2 separate regions of the Homo sapiens genome follow, and region 2 is linked to region 1. Evidence: promoter capture Hi-C in 16 types of primary human blood cells and fetal thymus (Javierre and others, 2016). All regions are on one chromosome and are shown on one strand. The core of a region is centred on a gene start or on the middle of the fragment in contact, and the rest is flanking DNA. Distances in the headings are between cores, read along the strand shown. Region 1 holds the start of FRAT2 (FRAT regulator of Wnt signaling pathway 2). Region 2 holds the start of EXOSC1 (exosome component 1).

Evidence for each region. The method cuts DNA at HindIII sites, captures the fragments that hold promoters and counts their contacts. A CHiCAGO score of 5 or more calls a contact.
Region 2: the fragment with the promoter of EXOSC1 here is called in contact with the fragment with the promoter of FRAT2 in region 1 in 2 of 17 cell types (neutrophils and monocytes); the score reaches 12.6 in neutrophils.

What each region holds. Positions count from the first base shown.
Region 1 is chr10:97,333,375-97,336,396 of GRCh38, forward strand. It overlaps FRAT2 (FRAT regulator of Wnt signaling pathway 2), which reads right to left and starts at 1,355. Exons shown (of 1, transcript NM_012083.3): 1 at 1-1,355. The coding sequence starts at 1,198. The coding sequence ends at 497. It overlaps LOC105378448 (a long non-coding RNA gene), which reads left to right and starts at 1,472. Exons shown (of 2, transcript NR_188201.1): 1 at 1,472-1,597. RefSeq lists an enhancer at 66-973 and silencers at 524-573, 584-713, 1,054-1,203, 1,294-1,443, 1,574-1,923. The HindIII fragment of the contact is 20,442 bases long and covers 1-3,022 here.
Region 2 is chr10:97,444,674-97,447,999 of GRCh38, forward strand. It overlaps EXOSC1 (exosome component 1), which reads right to left and starts at 1,333. Exons shown (of 8, transcript NM_016046.5): 1 at 1,282-1,333; 2 at 1,059-1,174. The coding sequence starts at 1,312. ZDHHC16 (zDHHC palmitoyltransferase 16) reads left to right here and starts at 1,502. Exons shown (of 12, transcript NM_198046.3): 1 at 1,502-1,680. RefSeq lists enhancers at 462-1,042, 1,043-1,622 and a silencer at 1,554-1,763. The HindIII fragment of the contact is 1,823 bases long and covers 590-2,412 here.

The DNA.
Region 1 (3,022 bases), core at 105-2,604:
TTCTTCTCCCCTCTGGAATTTCTTTGCACAGCAATTGTAGCACCACTTACTAAGCTCCTCCACCAGAAAATAAGAAAATGTATGCGTGTCGTTAGTTTTCAAGTATTGTTATAAAGCCATCGCGATTCCTACCCCTGAGCCCTCCTTAAACAATCCAAGCTCACGACGCCCCCAAGGGCTAAGTGAGGTACAAGTCGATGCAAGTAGCTGCCATAGTTCTCCCAGTTTATCCCAGGTCCTTGGGCTTGGATGGCCCGGGAAATTCTCATGCCCCACGGAAGCACCCTGGCGCATACATTTCTCCACGCTTAAGTTTTCTCCGACGGCCTCGCCGCGGCTGGTAACTTCTCTGGTTGAGATCTCTCCCCACGCGCCTCCCCGCAGCCAAAGTGGTCGCTCCCAGGCTGGCGACGTCGGCTTCAGCTCAGAGTTAGTAGGAACTGGACGCTGTTGGGTCTACGCAGCGGCCTCCACTTCCTCCTCCAGGAGGCCTGCGTCAGAGCAAGGAGCCTGAGGGCTGCAGGGCAATGCGGTCAGGTCCGCTGCGGCCTCCCCCGGGCCCAGGGGCGCTTGCGGGGCCCGTGGCTGCAACCGCGGCGACGGCTCGTTGGAGTCTCCGCACGGCTTCCTTGATGAGGTTTCCCGAGAGCACGAGCTGCTGGAGGAGCCGATGCGGGTCGTCGTCGCCGGCGCGTGCCCCGGCTTGGGTCCATCGGCGCTGCTGCAAGCGGCGGGAGGTGACCGCGTCCCTGAGCCATCCTCGCCGGCACGGCCCCGGCAGCGCGCTGGGGCCTGCGGCGACCTCCGCCACGCAGTAGGGCGCAGCGCGTCCGCGCACGCGGCCGCGGTCCCCTAGGGCGCAGCGCAGGGCCCCAGAGGGCGCCGGGCCCACCGTCTCAGCCGAAGCGGGCGGCAGCAGCAGCGGCACCGCCGGGGGCCGGGCCTTGTCCGCCGGCACCGCCGCAGCCAGGGGCCCCGGGGCCCGCAGCGGCACCCCCGGGGGCGCGCACGGCGAGGCCGGGCTGTCCTGCGCCGCGTCCAGCTGCAGCGTCTCGCCGATCTGGGCCACCAGCCGGTCCACCTCGCCCGAGCTGCCCAGCGTCACCGACTGCTGCAGCAGGAGGAAGCTGTCGTCCTCCTCTTCCTCCCCCTCCGCCTCCTCGCCGGCTTCCTCTTCCTCCTCCCTCCGGCACGGCATGGCCCCCCGTCCTGGCACCCGGAGCTGTGCGGGCTTCGCTGGGGGCTTGGTTGCCCGCGGGCGCGGAGCTGCGGGCGAAGCCGGAGCAGGGGCGGACGCGGAAGCCGGAGCCCGCCAGGCACTCGAGCCACGCGCCTGCAGCCGCTGGAGCCGGAATCCTGCCGGCTCGGGTTGATTTGTAAACAATGGGTGACGTCGCGCCGGGCCCTACCACCGCACCGGGGCGGGGGTGACGCGCGAGCAGGCACGGGGGCAAAGGGCGGCGCGGGCGGTGACCGAAGCCGTCCCGCGCCTGTGTTCGTTGTCCCTCCAGGAGGGGGTCCGGGGCGTGGGGACTGATTTCCGACCTCCCGGGCCCAACGAGCCGTGCTGAAACGTGGCGCCTCGGAGGAGGCTGAGGTTGGTTTCTCCCACGCACGGACACACCCACACCCACTCCGGGCCCGCCTCCTGGGCCGCGGCCTCCCTCCCCACGTGTCGGCCGCGCCTAAGCCCGCCCGACTCCCGCCCCGCGCACCCGCAGTTCCCGGCCCTGGTCGTGGGGGAGGGGCGGGCCGCCGCGGGTCCGGCTTCGACGAGGCGGGGCGGGGAAAGGCGGAGGGAATTGGGAGTGAAGAGGCGGCACGTTACTTATTTACTTATTTATTATTTAGAAAAGGTCTCTGTCGCCCAGGCTGAAGTATAGTGGCGCGAACACGGCTGACTGCAGCCTCGAACTCTGGCTTAAGTAATCATCCCACTTTAAGCCTCCGGAGCAGCTGGGACCACAGGCGCGGCCACCACGCCTGGCTAATTAAAAAAATTTTTTTTGTAGAGACGGTGGTGGGGGGGGGGGGTCTCACTATATTGCCCAGGCTGGTCTCGAACTCTTGGGCTCAAGGAGTCCTCGCTCCTCGGCCTCCGAAAGTGTTGGGGTTACTGGCGTCAGCCGCCGCGCCCGGCCTAAGAGGGGACGCTTTGAAGCAGAGCAGAATCGCTCTGAGGTGAGGTCCCAGAGGCTTTCCCTCCCGCAGTCTTCAAGCCCCCGGACATATCATGAGAATAGGACTCACCGCCGCTCGGCTAAAGAAGGGTCTTTTTTTTTTTTTAAGGTTCAAATAGAAATATAGGGGATTGGCCAGGAGCGGTGGGTGGCTCATGCCTGTGATCCCAACACTTTGGGAGGCCGAGGCGGGCGGATCACCTGAGGTCAGGAGTTCCAGACCAGTCTGGCCAACATGGTGAAACCCCATCTCTGCTAAAAATACAAAAATTAGCCGGGCGTGGTGGCGGGCGCCTGTAATCCCAGCTACTCGGGAGACTGAGGCAGGAGAATGGTTTGAACCCTGGAGGCGGAGGTTGCAGTGAGCCGAGATCACGCCACTGCACTCCAGCCTGGGCAACAAAGCGAGACTCCGTCTCAAAAAAAAAAAGAAAAATATAAGGGATGGAAAAAATCTCTCATGGTTCACATTTAAATTTTTTTCCTTTTTAGCCTTTGTTCTATGAAAGTGTAGTATACAAACACATGCATACAGTGTTACACACTTTTCCACTTTGCCTTACATCATAAACGTTTTTCGTGTTATTGCATGCACTTTGAAAACATTTTAATGATTACATAAGTTTCCATCAAGTGCCTATGTTTTTAACATTTGCCTAATTTCACCATCGTTAAGTGTGTAACTAACATTTTTGTGCGCGACACTTTAAGATATTGATGATTCTTTCCTTAGGGCATATTCCCAGGAGTGGAATTTTAAGTCACAGTAGTTGGGTATTTTAAGGTTTACTGATAAATGTTCAGGAAGTGTCTTTCCAAGAGTTAGGTAAATGTACTCTACC
Region 2 (3,326 bases), core at 83-2,582, 110 kb after region 1:
ACAAACTCAGGACTGTTAAGAACATTCCCAACAATGACTGAATAGAAAGCCCCTTGAATCAGACAGCTTAAGTTACTTACTCAAAGCAGAATCAAAGTCAAGTTAGCCAGAACGTAACTGTTCTAATTCTGAATCCTCTTTCTATTGTGCTCCTTCAAATATTGCTTATATGATCCTGAGCTAATCCTGGATCTATCTCTGAAACTAGAAAGGTAGGTATTACTCACACATTCAACATTTATTGAGGAGCTGCCTTGTGCTATATACGGATGGTATGGTGGTAGGGCCTGCTTTCACGGACTTAGATTTAAGCAGGGGAGAAGTCTAGTAGGAAACATATACCTGAGTGTCTCATCATATGCTGACATAGTGCTTGGAAGAAAAGGAACAGAGTTTTTTGTGAGTCTTTAACAAAACAAACAAAAACAAAACACCCCACAAAACTCCTTTCCTCAATTAGTGGGTCCAGAAGGACTTCTCTGAGGTGATAGTAGAGAAGCTATCTAAAGGAGGTAGGAATTAAATAGGCCTAGGAAGATAGAAGCGTTCCAGATAGATGGCATGTTACAAAGGCTCTGTAGCAGGAGAAAGCTTGGCGCATTACCGACACTGAAAGAAGCTAGTATGTTATAAAAAATTTTTAAAGGGCAAGCAGAGACTGTGATTATAACTTTTAAACACAGAAAAGACAGTATGACTAGATTGCGTCAGTGAGGTGGAGATAGTGGCGCTAGATAAAGTCGGAAAGGTAAGCAACATTCATACAGTATGCAACTCACTGCTGGGCTGAGCTGGGCTGGGATGGGATACTGAGTTCGCATCTGCTTTTGTCCCAACTTCCCTCCCCGAGGGTCAGCAGCACAACCAAGCGAGATCAACACAACTAGTGTGTGGTGGCTAAGTGCACCACAGCGGCGATACGGCTAGAAGAAACTAAGAGACCAACATTGTACCACTGAGGCACTAAAGACGCGTCCGCAGTGCCCATGCCTAAGGACTGGAACTCAAGGGCAGCCTAAGGGAAAAACAGAGGGGAGATGGCATGCCGCTTCCTTTACCGCGCCATTCTCGCTGCTCTTCATCAGACAGCCGGCAAGCGACGAAAAGATGTAGCCGTGGCGGGTGTAGGTGCCGCTGCCCGGGCTGCCCTCCTCCAAGTTACACAGACGTTCGCCTGCAGAAAAAATGCTGCATCGGTCACGGGCCCCCAGAAGCTGTAGGCCGTTTAGCCTTCTTGCTTCAGCCCCTATCCAGGACTCTGTACGGGAAGCGCTCACTTACCGGGGATGCAGTATCTCACAGGTGGCGCCATGATTGCCGCTGTCCCAAAACCAGGATGAAAACGAAGTCGATTTCTCATTGGCCAAACCCAGGCACAGTTCCGCAGTAAGACACGTGTCAATTGGTACTCTTTATCCTTGCGAGTAAACTCCATTTCCCAGGTTACCCCGGGACAAATCCGGGGGCGGAACTTCAGAGGTCCACGCTGGCGCCTGCGCGTGTGGTTGAGGATGGGCTGGCGGCGGGTCCGGGTCCGCTGCCTGGCGCTGCGGGCGGCGGGCCATGGTGGTTTGGATTGAGCCGGGCCCGGCCGGGGCGCCGAGTCGGAGGGGGTGGCAGTGAGCGGCGGCAGAGGCTACGGGGCTCGGTTTGGCTGACTGGGGAGTCGGCAGGCGGCAGGTAAGGGCGAAGCCTCGGCCCTTGCTCCCCATCCTAGTCCCTTTTTCTGGGTAGGGCACTGCCCTGGGGCCTTGTCTTGAGTGCGGGTTCCTGCTCTCTCCTCGCCCCGCCCTGCGGGGCCGTGCCCTCCTCAGCCCGAGCGCACCTTCCGAGCAATCGTTACGCTCAGAGCAGGAGGGAAGGAGGTCAAGCGACCCAACTCGTCTGTTTCACAGATATGGAACCTCAGATTCAGAGACAGGGTTTGACTTGTCCAAAATGATCAAGATAGTTAAGATAGAGCCCAAACTGGAACCCACGGTTTTTGACTTCCAGTCCATCGCAGTTTCACCTCGCGGCTGTCATTGAGAAATAAAACCTTTTCCCGGTTTTTTTGTTTTGTTTTTGAGGAGTCTCGCTCTGTCGCCAGGCTGGAGTGCAGTGGAGCGATCTCTGTTCACTGCAACCTCCGCCTCCCGGCATCAAGCGATTCTCCTGCCTCAGCCTCCCGCGCAGCTGGGACTTACAGGCGCGCGCCACCACGCCCAGCTAATTTTTGTAGTTTTAGTAGTGACGGGGTTTCACCATGTTAGCCAGGATGGTCTTGATCTCTTGATCCGCCCGCCTCGGCCTTCCAAAGTGCAGGGAGTACAGGCATGAGCCACTGCCTCCGGCCTTTTCCCGGTTTTTTAAACTGCAGCTTCCAGTCCTGCGGTCCGATCCTCTTCGCGGCCCCTCATCCCCACTTCAGTAAGCTTTCTCTGGTTGAAAAAGCCGAACTCTGGTTGTGTGGGCCCGTCATCAAAAGATAAGCAGCCCCAAAATAAAGTTGTTACTCTTTTTCTTCTCAGCGTGTTAGCCCAGAAGGGAGGTCTGCACATGAATAAAATGCTACTCTTTATTGATGTTGGGTATCTCCTACTTGAGATTGCAAACATCCTGAGAGCAGCGTCTTTGTCCAGATGACATTCGCCACGACTTTGATCTCAGTTCACCTGACTTCTGATGGCTTTGCCGTCTGTCCTTCCCTGTCCCCTCAGTCGACTTTCCCATTGGGAAACAGATGTGACTTAAAGCCATGGGAAGAGGGGAGTGTTGTGGCCAGCAATCTCCTCCAGTCTGGTGGCAGATGACCAGTATGGCCTGTGACTATTACTGAAGGATCAGAGTACTCGGGCTTGTGCTTGGGGTGGTAGTAAAGCTGCGCTTTGCTCTGTTTCCTCCCGTTCACTGAGATTAGCCCCTTCTCCCCTACACACATCTTTTTGAATTTTGCTTTACTTCTATTTCTTGAGATGAAAAGTCTGGGCCAGGTGCGGTGGCTCACGCCTGCAATCCCAGCACTTTGGGAGGCTGAGGCAAGCACATCACCTGAGGTCGGGAGTTTGAGACCAGCCTGACCAACATGGAGAAACCCGGTCTCTACTAAAAAAATACAAAATTAGCCAGGCGTGGTGGCACATGCCTGGAATCCCAGCCACTCAGGAGGCTGAGGCAGGAGAATTGCTTGAACCCAGGAGGCGGAGGTTGTGGTGAGCCCAGATTGTGCCATTGCACTCCAGCCTGGGCAACAAGAGTGAAACTCCATCTCAAAAAAAAAAAAAAAGAAAAGTCTGTGTGTTCAGTTGCGGCCCACTTACTACATATGTAATTTTCCTGGCATCCCA